Linked DNA regions of Homo sapiens: regions 1, 3 and 4 are each linked to region 2. The links are contacts of gene promoters, found by promoter capture Hi-C in blood cells and fetal thymus (Javierre and others, 2016). All regions are on one chromosome and are shown on one strand. Each heading gives the region's core, a stretch centred on a gene start or on the middle of the fragment in contact. The rest is flanking DNA. Distances are from core to core; before and after follow the strand shown. Region 1 overlaps LOC107984619 (a long non-coding RNA gene). Region 2 holds the start of AKAP11 (A-kinase anchoring protein 11). Region 3 holds the start of NUFIP1 (nuclear FMR1 interacting protein 1). Region 4 has its middle 78 kb from the start of MIR8079.

Evidence for each region. Contacts are between HindIII fragments. The CHiCAGO score rates a contact against its expected background, and 5 or more counts as called.
Region 1: a contact is called between a fragment that was not itself captured here and the fragment with the promoter of AKAP11 in region 2, in 1 of 17 cell types (total B cells). The highest score is 6.9, in total B cells.
Region 3: a contact is called between the fragment with the promoter of NUFIP1 here and the fragment with the promoter of AKAP11 in region 2, in 1 of 17 cell types (naive B cells). The highest score is 8.1, in naive B cells.
Region 4: a contact is called between a fragment that was not itself captured here and the fragment with the promoter of AKAP11 in region 2, in 1 of 17 cell types (total B cells). The highest score is 7.2, in total B cells.

What each region holds. Positions count from the first base shown.
Region 1 is chr13:44,913,856-44,916,555 of GRCh38, forward strand. All of the region lies in intron 1 of LOC107984619 (a long non-coding RNA gene), which reads right to left. Among named protein-coding and RNA genes, the nearest start is that of TRE-TTC2-1, 2.8 kb to the right of the region's middle. The HindIII fragment of the contact is 1,285 bases long and covers 654-1,938 here.
Region 2 is chr13:42,270,795-42,273,494 of GRCh38, forward strand. AKAP11 (A-kinase anchoring protein 11) reads left to right here and starts at 1,358. Exons shown (of 13, transcript NM_016248.4): 1 at 1,358-1,434. RefSeq lists an enhancer at 548-727 and a silencer at 1,268-1,617. The HindIII fragment of the contact is 2,900 bases long and covers 544-2,700 here.
Region 3 is chr13:44,988,142-44,990,841 of GRCh38, forward strand. It overlaps NUFIP1 (nuclear FMR1 interacting protein 1), which reads right to left and starts at 1,330. Exons shown (of 10, transcript NM_012345.3): 1 at 884-1,330. The coding sequence starts at 1,295. GPALPP1 (GPALPP motifs containing 1) reads left to right here and starts at 1,397. Exons shown (of 8, transcript NM_018559.5): 1 at 1,397-1,601. The coding sequence starts at 1,514. RefSeq lists enhancers at 868-1,506, 1,131-1,200, 1,391-1,580, 1,507-2,143. The HindIII fragment of the contact is 7,208 bases long and covers 1-2,700 here.
Region 4 is chr13:44,272,833-44,275,532 of GRCh38, forward strand. No RefSeq gene overlaps it. Among named protein-coding and RNA genes, the nearest start is that of MIR8079, 78 kb to the left of the region's middle. RefSeq lists an enhancer at 1,630-1,809. The HindIII fragment of the contact is 410 bases long and covers 1,052-1,461 here.

The sequences.
Region 1 (2,700 bases), core at 46-2,545, 2.6 Mb after region 2:
AAAGAGGTCACTTTTGCACATACTGTGTTGAAGTTGCCTATTTGCATAAAGCTGAGCCCCCAACTTCAGTTTGACTGTATCCCTATGAAACAGGAATAGTCTTACCTACATTTTCTTTCTTTCTTTCTTTCTTTTTTTTTTTTTTTTTTTTTTTTTTTTGAAACAGAGTCTGGCTCTGTCTCCCAGGCTGGAGTGCAGTGGTGCGATTTCGGCTCACTACAACCTCTACCTTCCAGGCTGAAGCCATTCTCCCATCTCAGCCTCCTGAGTAGCTGGGACTACAGGCGTGCACCACCAGCTATTTTTTTGTGTTTTTTGTAGAGACGAGGGGCAGGAGGAAGCGATTTGTGTTTTTTGTAGAGACGGGCGGCGGGGAGGGGTAGAAGACGGTGCCGGGGTTGGGAGGGTGTCTCGCTTTTTTGCCCAAGCTGGCCTGGAACTCTTGAGCTCAAGCTATCCACCCACCTCGGCCTCCCAGAGTGCTAGGATTACAGACATGAGCCACCATGCCGGCCATACCTACATTTTCTTAATGAGTACACAACAAGTTGCAAAATCCCAAGCTTTCTTAAATCAGGATAGATTATGTTGATTGCTCCCCCATCTACCATGGCTGTCACTCTGCGACAAAAGGAAATTAGATTCATCTGATAAGCTTTGTTTTTCACAAAGTAATGTGGGATGATTACCCAGTGCCCTGTGGTCTTCTAGAAGTTTGCAAATTGATTTTTTGATTATTTGTTCCAGTGATTTTCCAAGTAGTCAGTGTTTTTCCAAGTTATTCAGCTTTACAGTGTGGGTGAGTTAAAATTCATATTTGCTTTCATATTAATATATGAAGTGTTAATGTAATTATTTAGGATATTTTTGCATGCGGCATCAGATATACTCTGAGGGAACATACATATGAATCTGCATGACTATAAATACACTTGTTGAGGGGCACAAAGCAATTTTCATGTGGAATCCATCAGAGTTTATGACTATATGCAAAAATGAAAGCATACAGGAACACATGGTTAGTTCAAATACCCCAAACAGGTTAAGCTCATCACTTTCTAGAAATGATTATATATGATGAATTTTTTTAAAAAAAAACTTCACGTAGAAAAATTACTACTATGTTTATGCAGCTATGCTGTGAACACTGACCAAAAATACAAGAGAATATTTTTTTGGCCAGGCACGGTGGCTCACGCCTGTAATCTCAGCACTTTGGGAGGCTGAGGCAGGCGGATCACTTGGGGTCAGGAATTCAAGATCAGCCTGGCCAACATGGTGAAATCCCATCTCTACTAAAAACATAAAACTTAGCTGGGTGCGGTGGCGCACACCTAAAATCCCAGCTAGTCAGGAGGCTGAGACCCGAGAATCGTTCCAACCCAGGAGTCAGAAATTGCAGTGAGCTGAGATCGCGCCACTGCACTCCAGTCTGGGTGACAGAGGGAGACCTTATCTCAAAATAAATAAATAAATAAATAAATAAATAAATAAATAAATAAATAAAAATAATTGAATCTTCTCTGCACTCAATCCCCCTAAGCCCCGCTCCTTGACGCCAGGATTTGGAGAGAGTGGTGTCTGGCTAGAGCACCAGACAGGAATTCAATCTTTTGTGGATACAATCTAAAGTCCAATACTAGGGAATCAGAGAAATAAAATCTCAGAATAGATGTTTCCCGGGTAAAACGAGGGTCTAAGTTAAACGACTGCTAAGGGCCTTTCCAGCTCAAATAGTCTATGAATCTAAAGACTATGAGGATGATGAATGGAAGTTATGGCAAAATGTTTTACAAAAAGGGAAAGCCATAAAAATGCCAAATATAACTGAAGTAACCATCTCCCCACAAAGTGAAACCCTTTCATATCATTAAGTACCTGTCTTCAGAAATATCTACTATGCTCTGAGTCCACCAAATATTACAGCCATCTCAAGAAAGCTTCTGTCAAATCCATGAGGTCAAAACTCTATTTTATGAAAATGAATGATTAATAGGATGAGTAGACATGACAGCCTTCATATAAATGGAATTCACCTGCCATCTGAAAGCAGTTTTGTCTTGCTTTTTGGAGACAGGATCTCACTAGCCCAGAATGGAGTGCAGCAGCAATCATAGCTCACTGCAGCCTCGAACTCCTGGCCTCAAGCGATCCTCCCACCTCAGCCTCTTGAGCAGCTAGGACTACAGGCACGCACCACTGCCTGGCAAATTTTTTTTTTTTTTTTATTTTTTTATTTTTGAGACGGTGTCTCCTTACGCTGTGCAGGCTGGTCTTGGTCTCCAATTCCTGCTCGAGTGATACTCCCACCTCGGCCTCACAAAGTGTTGGGATTATAGCCATGAGCCACTGCCCCTGGCCTAAAAACAAGTTTAAAACAAACAAAAACTACACAGCTTCTGCCTGGCAGCCCCCGGCATCAGCTATCCTCCCTGGCCTTGCCCCTTAGGCTCAGGAGCTGTGAGAGCTGCATTACCCCTTCTTGTTTCCCTAAACCCTAAGAAAAACTTAAATAATCCTTGATTAAGCACTCTGCTAAGAATATATCACGAGTTTCCTACAGGGCCGCGATTGATACAGGGATAATAATATCATCTGAGAGTAAAATAATCTAAAATAATAATCAAAAAATAAAAATAGGCCCGGTGCGGTGGCTCACGCCTGTAATCCCAGCACTTTGGGAAGCCGAGGTGGGTGGAT
Region 2 (2,700 bases), core at 108-2,607:
CACTAGAATAGATCCTTACTTAGGGCCTTTGAATTAGTGTTATCCTTTTCCTGGAATGCTCTATGCTCTGATTTTTGCGTCTGTTATTCAAATCGCTGCTAAAATATCTCCTCCTTAAAAGGGCATCCCCTTTACTAGCCACTCAGTCACCATCACCATCACGTCACTTATTGTAACTTCTTTGCATACAGCTTAAAACCAACAGATTTTTTTTCTTTTCACCCTCAGATAAGTTCCCTAGAATCTACACTACTTGTCTTCATCATTGTTCAATCAACAGCCTAGAGTAGTGTTTGTTGAATGAAGAAATGAACAAACGAATGCACCCTTTCTTCCGTGACCCTCTCCTCTGAACAGGGCAAAACTTAACTCATAACGAGGATACACTCAAAAATGTCTTTCTTATTGCCAGGTGTTTCCACTCTTGAGGAACAGATGCCCTTTAGGAGACAGGGCAATTTGACTGGACTGGCCCTTCCGATTTTAGGTGAAAATAATCACCATAACAGCTTTTCATCTCTGGCTAGGCTTCCCAGTGACCAAAGCTTTACTTTCCGATTTCCATACCACGTAAAGACATCAGGGTGAGCACTAGGGCCCTGAGAACCCTGGAAGCTACTTCTTGGCTGGGATAGGGCTGGTTGCCCGGTGCGCTGTGAGTGGTCCTCCCCGGAGATGCTGGGAGAAGGGGCGGAGCCATCAGAAAGGATGAGCCTTCCTTGGGCCTTCGGATCTGGTGGGGCTGCCACTTTGGGAAGGGCCCCGGGCTTCGGAAGAAAGCAAAACTAGCCTTGTGGCGAAGAAGGAGCCCAGCTGGCCCCAGGCTGTTAAGACTAAGGGGTCGAGGGAAAAGAGGCAGAGCCTGAAACCAAATCTGCGGAGCAAGCCAAGGCCTGGGGACTTGCCAGAGGGAAGGGTTAAGCCGTTTCCAAGGCAACGGACCAGGAAGCGCGCAAGACGTCCGCCGCAGGTTCGTAGGTCGCCCTCGAATTTAAAGCTCCCAAGGCTGAGTGGGTCCCGGCCAATGGAGAGGCCCCCTTTAAGTCATGTGACCAGCGGGGCTGCCCCGCGGGCTGCTCCGCGGGCTGCACTGGAGCACGTGGGAAGGCTTTTTTTCCTGTTCCTTCTTTCCCTTTTTAAACGCCCACCCACTTTTGCGCGGGCTCGGCCGCGGAATTTTTCTCGCGAGAGGCGCGCTGCCCTCTCGCGAGAGAGAGTGGGAGGCGTGGAGAGTAGGCGGTGTTGCGGGCCGGAGCTGCGGCGGCGGCGGCGGCGGCGGAAGCCGAGGGGTGGGCAGGGCGGGGGCGGGCCGCGGGGCTGGGAGGGGGAGGGCTGGGGGTCAGCGCGGGAGGGGGCCAGCTTGCTTGCCCGGCTCGCTCACGGGTCGTTGAGGCCGGTGACATGTCTGTGAGCTGCGGAGGCTGCGGCCCCCAGGTGAGCCGGGCGCCGACGTGCTCGCCGCGGAGGCTGCGTTTAGATGGGGTGGCGGCGGGTGTGCGGCCGGCATGGATGGAGCGGCCCGGCTCCGGCGCTCCAGCCCCTCCGCCTGCCGCTGGTCCCCCTTCTGGCTTCGGGGCCGCCCGAGAGCTGCGCCTTCGCATGGCGGAGGGAGGAGGGCGGGAGGAGCGCGGCCGAAGGAGGAAACTCACCGCACCGGGCCCAGAGTAGAGGGAGGTGCTGGGTCTCGAGACGCGTCTTCCTGGGGTCCCAAGTGTGGCGGTGGAGCTGCCGCCCCTTTTAATGACAGGCTGTTTCCATCCCCGGGGTGGTCTTCAGAGACGGCCCCCCGGGTGCGTGGTGCGCGTGCTTAGTGTGTGTTCGTGGTGTGCGCACAGGAACATTTGCAGCGGTTGGGAGGACGTTGCACTTTGTTCCCGAACAGCATCCTTCACTGTCAGACCCCCGGAGCCTTGGAAGCAGGCGCTGCTCAGATCTTGTAAACGGAAGGCGTCAAGGGGCTCCTCAGAGTATTGATATTTGGATTTGCTGTCAAATACTCTCCTAGGCTGTTAATGGCTTAAGGCTGGCCATAAAGTACCCCGAATGGATTGAGTATACTGCTGTTAATCCAGGCATCTAAGCTGCTTTATAAAAAATATGTAGATGTAACCGAAGTATTAAAAAGTGACAATGACAGTAAAAGCTAACATTTTTTCTCTTCCCCATATTACCAGCTTTCATTTTTTTTCTCTGCTTTGTCTGTCTTCTAAAACCATATAAAGTTGGATGTGGTTTAGCTTTAGATGTTAAGGAGTTTCATGGTGAGAAAGACTGCTGAGATACATACCTAATAGCTTTAGTACAAACTGGAGTTAATTCCTGTTCTCTTTTCAGCTTTTCAATCGCTTGCAAAATGCTCGTTTTGCTTAGCTGCTTCCCACTGTTTTAGAAATGTCATGTCGATTGTTATTTTGTTATGTCTGAAAATACTCAAAATATGGAGTACTAAGAAAAAATGGGGTATCAGTAATGCACAGATATATTTTTTTTAATGTCATCATTTTAGGATGGCAGCCCAGTGCCTGGCATGATTGGTGTCAGTTAAAATAGTGCAATTGAATGATTTTTTTTTTTTTTGAAAAACACATTTACTTTTTCAAACGGTACCCTGATTATTCATTTTTTCTTGTCGTTGTTCCTCCTGACAAAACTGACCCAGGGGTGGACAGTGAATGTCACTATTGTAGCTGTAACAGTAAT
Region 3 (2,700 bases), core at 80-2,579, 2.7 Mb after region 2:
CGGCGTGGTGGCTCATGCCTGTAATCCCAACACTTTGGGAGGCTGAGGCGGGCGGATGCCTGAGCTCAGGAGTTAGAGACAGGCCTGTCCAACACGGGGCAACCCCCTTTCTACTAAAAATATAAAAAATTAGCCGGGTGTGGTGGCGTGGGCCTGTAGTCCCAGCTACTCAGGAGTTTGAGGCATGAGAATTGCTTGAACTCGGGAGGCAGAGGTTGCAGTGAGCCTCTCTGCAGAGACTGCATAGGCTGGAGTGAAGTAGATCGCGCTACTCTTCACTCCAGCCTGGGCGACAGAGCGACACTCTGTCTCCAAAAAAAAAGAAAAAAAGAAAATCCTGCACTACTTACCATTCTTCTTTGTTTTATCTCTCTCCATGCCACTCAACCTTCTAATGCACAATATTTTATTTTGCTTATTGTCTGTCTTCCTACACAAGAGAGATAATATTAAGCTCCATAATATTTTTTGTATGTTCTGCTCACTGCTATATACCCAGATTCTGGTACATAGTCGGAATTCAATAAATAACTGCTAAATGGAATTAACAGTCAACAGGAAAACATTCTAGTCAGACATATTTTGAGAACAAAGGATTTACAATATTATATAAACTTAGTTGATAAAGCAGCCTCGACTTCCTGGGTTCAAGGAATCCTCCTGCCTCAGCCTCCCATGCATCTGCGACCACAGGCATGCCACCATGCCTGGCTAATTTTATTTTTTTTGTAGAGACGGGGGTCTCACTTTGCTTTGAGATGCTAATGACCAGACTCCAAGAGTGCAGAGGCAAGGCAGAGTAGAGAGAGGAAGCAGAGAAAGGGGAGAGGAAAGAACGGGGGAAAAAGGTAAAGGGGTCGACTCACGTGGAAAAATAGCCTACCTGCAGGGTTGAAGGACTTCTGATGCCGAGGAAACCTATCAGAAGACTGTCTCCAATACCACGATGTGGAAGCATGGAAATTCCAAGGCTGGCCGCTGGGTTGAGGCTGAGAATCAAGGGGAGACTGGGCGTCGAAGGGGGGTTGCGCCCCGGGAAGAATCTGGGCGTCGAAGGGGGGCGGAGCCCCGGGGAGAGACTGGGCCTCCATGGGGGGCTGCGACTCAGAGGAAGGCTTTGACCCGGCTGCGGGAAGCGAGGACGTAAGTGGTGGTGGCGGTGGCGGCAGCATTGCCCAGAACATCCAGCTGTCCCGCGGCGGGGCAGTGTCGCTCAGGGGCCCTAACGTGGGAGTCAGCTCGGGAGACGCATGCCACCCGATAGGAGTCTCGAAATCACTAGTCGGCTCAGCCATACCACTGGCGGGTCCGGAGTCTAGCACGCGACTGTGGAGCAAGCATTAGGCGTCACTTCCTTTACCGTGAACTACAAGGCTCAGCCAACCACAGGCTTTACGTCATTTCTCGGCGCCGGGAAACCTGCCATTCTTCGCTGCTGATCGCGGGATTCTTTTTGGATAGGGTTGACGTTCGTGGATAGACTCATATCTGTGACCAGTGTCCGCCACCGCGGATGGCAAGAGACCTGATCGGACCGGCCCTGCCGCCCGGCTTCAAGGCCCGCGGAACAGCGGAGGACGAAGAGCGGGACCCGAGCCCTGGTAAGCGGCGGCGTCTCCGCTGCCCACCAGGCCCATCTACCCACTCCCTGGCCGGGCCCTGCTCGCTGAAGAAAGTCGGAGGCCTAGGAGGGCGGAGGAGTGGGGAGTGGGCGCGGCCTGACCCGAGAGAACTTTTCTCTTCCCAAACAGTAGCAGGGGGGAGGAGGCTGGGGGACCCTCCTAGAAACGAGCTTTGGCGTGGTTTGGCTTCGTGATGATAATACATTCTCATTTAGCCTTAATATGAGCTGCACGCTGCCCTAACTGACTGATACCCACTCAGTCATTTAAGCCGTATAAGAAAAAAACTATTTTCCCATGTTGCAAATGGGTACGCCCAAGCCCATGCCAGTGTCTAGATCATACTGCTAGCAAGTGATGGAGCGCGACTTAGAAGGAAGCGGTTCTCTTAACCTCTGTGCCATATTGCCTTCTGATTACAAGAACCTTGCAGATCCTGTTCTCTCCAGCCCCCGACCTGCCTTCCTAGCCTCTCATTCTGTTATTGCATCTGACAAACACAGCCCAATACTCAATCCAGTCTGAGTTGCTGCGCAATTCCTTAACGCTCTAGGCTTCTGGGCTTCCTCTGGTTGCATTCCTAAACATAACTGACAAACTTCTCCCCATCCTTCAAGGCCCAACTTAAATGTCACACCAATAAAACCTTTCCAGATTCCCCGAAGCATTGTCATGCCTTTCTTTTTGCCCTCGGGTTTTTTCCTAATTACATTGCATATTTAGTACACTGTATTTGAATAATTTGTCGACATAATCTGTCTCCACCATTGCACTATGGTCTTCTACCTGAACACGCAACAGGCACTTGGTATATACGAAACGAATGCTTCTCGGATTCCGGCATGCATACCTATCTGCTTTAATGTTTATTCACATTTGTAGACTAGCACCGACACCCAGTTGGAGAAGAGTAAAGCTGAAAGAGTAACCCTGCCATTTCTGAATCTAATTTTTCTTCCTGGTCTACCCGGAGGCTATGTTTCTACTACAGGCCCCTTTCCAATATAATTTCTGTCATAACCACTTTAAAAATTATGCCTTCCAGCTGAGCGAGGTGGCACAAGCCTGTAATCTCAGC
Region 4 (2,700 bases), core at 7-2,506, 2.0 Mb after region 2:
ACCCCTACTGCCTAGAGAAAGGGTTTCCAAGTCCAGTACCTCCAGGGGCAAGTAGGCAACCTCACTGTGAGGAAGTCAGCCAGATATGAAACAGCAGGGAGTGATGGAATCATGGAAACCCTGTGCAGAGAGCCTCCTAGACCAAAACATTCAAATTCAAATCCAAATGCAGGCAAAGCCAGCCTGAGGTCCCGATTCATGCTCTGCTGGCCAGATCTAGAAGGATAGTGCTCTGCATTGCAAAAAGTACCTCTAGCCTGGAACAGGACCTGTCCTCTTTGATTTTTCTACATTTCACAGGTTTAAATTAAGTACACTCAAAGGTGTTATTTGTAGCAATATCCTAACTACATTGAACTACCATTTAACATGCTGTTTCTACGGGAAACATGTATTGCAAGTTCTAACTCTAAGTGCTAGGAGTGTCCCAGCATCCATCCCATCTTTGGTGATGACAGCATCCATGGAATCAACATCTGAGGTACAGAACGTCACTGGGGAGGCCAGGAGAAAGCTCCTGGGTGCAGATAGCTTGTGATGGCTCCATATCTCTGTATATATCTCAACACGACCCTCACACTCGATACTCCAGGCATGTCCACCTATCTACAGAGGGCCCGCCATCCTCATTTCTTCACCACTGCTGTGTGCCATGCTACATCCTCTGCCTCACCTTCACCCAGCTGCTTGTTTTTATCCTGTGGGCCACTTCTTTTCCTAACCTCTTCCCCGCTCTGTTGTCTGACACTCCAAAGCCACCAGAGCATGTTGTACTTTCCCCAGTGTGGTGCTTCTCCACACTGGATTGTGACTGTCATTTGTGGTCAGCATCTCCCCCAGACTGGTAGGAGGAGGAGAGGGTCGGACTCTTCACAGCAGTATCCCCAACACCTGACTGGTGTCACATGCTTCGTGGCCAGCATTGAATGAATGAGCAAATGTATTAACAAAAAATTGAAGGAATGAAGAGATAAAGCAACTTTTTGCGCTAAATCACTGGTATTCTCAAATGGGTCACATGACACACTGTCCTCTCAAGGGACAGAGACAAAGCTTGCATCTGAAACTCCCCATACCTGCACATTCATTGCTCAGTTAACCTTCACAATAACCAACATGAGGTATTTCTTTTACAACAATAAAAAAGTAAATTGATGACTAGAGATATTGAATAAATTGCCCAGCACCATAAAGCTAGTAAATGGCTGAACCCTGAACTCCAACCCAGCTCCCCTGACTGCAAAACCTGTGCTTTCCCACCACACCGGGCTGGCCAGGGGTTAGGAGCTCACTGATGCCTGATGGCAAACATACTCCTGCTGTCGCTGCTGCTGCTCCCACTCCTGACTTCAGTATTCCAGGCTCACACAGCCAAATCAGCTCTCAGAAGAAGTCAACCCCAGAGTAGATTCTGGGTCACAGCTGTTACAATCAGGAAGTTGGTCTTTAACCCCAGGTAGAAGCTTCACTTCACTAGGGTGGGATCTTTGAACACAGAGCATCCCTTCCATCTGCTGTCCCACACCTGCCTCCCTATGCCTATTCTCATCAACACATATTTAAAACCTTTGAAGGACAACCTCAAGCCACATGCAAAAAACTTCCTAATTATTAGGGAGCGAATTTGCAATATTTTAGTATATATAAGTAAGAGTGAATGAAAGAGACATAGAGGCCGAGGGAGAGGCAGAGAGAGAGGGAAACAGAAAGTGAAAGCAGAGGCAGAGTTATGCATAACAGGTTCTAAAATACACTATTTGGTAGGGGTGTAATGATGACGCACATTGCTAGAGAAAAGAACAAAATGGAGGAAGCTCTCTGGCGTCTATGTGCCTTATAAAATTATTAATTTAACCAATCCCTAAAGTCATGAAGTATTAAGTGACAAGTTGTCTAGCTACAATAGTATGAGTCAACTACTGCATATTCCACTCTATTTTAACATTGAAGCCTAAGATGATTTAGGCTAACAAAGTCATTTTCCAAACAAATCTAAAAATCAAATCTTCATACAAGAAAAGAGGGAGAAGCACCAGACTTTAACCCCAAATGGCAGCCAGTCTTTATGAGATTCTGTTACAGGGTCTGTAAAACTCTGAGCCAGCTGCATGGAAAGGACCCAGGACCACTCACACTGACTGATGTGGTCTTTGAAAATGTGCCAGCAAGGCTTACAGAGAAGGAAACCAGAGCTTTTCAGAACTCAGCTCCTCTGCACAGCGACACAGTGAGATGGACAAGGGCTGCTCTACTGAATTTGCAAATGTGAATTTAACCCACTTATGAAAACAGTACCGGGCATGGCTATATCACTTATCAGCTCATCAAGTTTGTTCTGGAGGGGAAGCAGTTTTGTGTGGCCCCACTATCAGGCACCAGCCTCATAAAGAAGCAAGCAGCACAAATCCTAAATTCTGTGGTGTTTAATGGAGGCCATGTCAACACAACAGCGGGAAAGAGAGGGACTCTCTACCAACCGGTATACTAAGACATAATCTAGAGGCCAAAGGACTCCAGATAAATTACCCATTGCCCAAAACAAAAGGAAGTCTTTTGATAAGAGAAATATTTACACCTGGGGAGTAAGCCATGGTCCCAGGAAGAAAATGTCTTAAAATGAACTTTGCATCTATTTAGTTTTGCATTTTCAGTCCCCAAATACCCCATCACTGTTTTCCTGTTTTCTTTTTCTCTCCCATG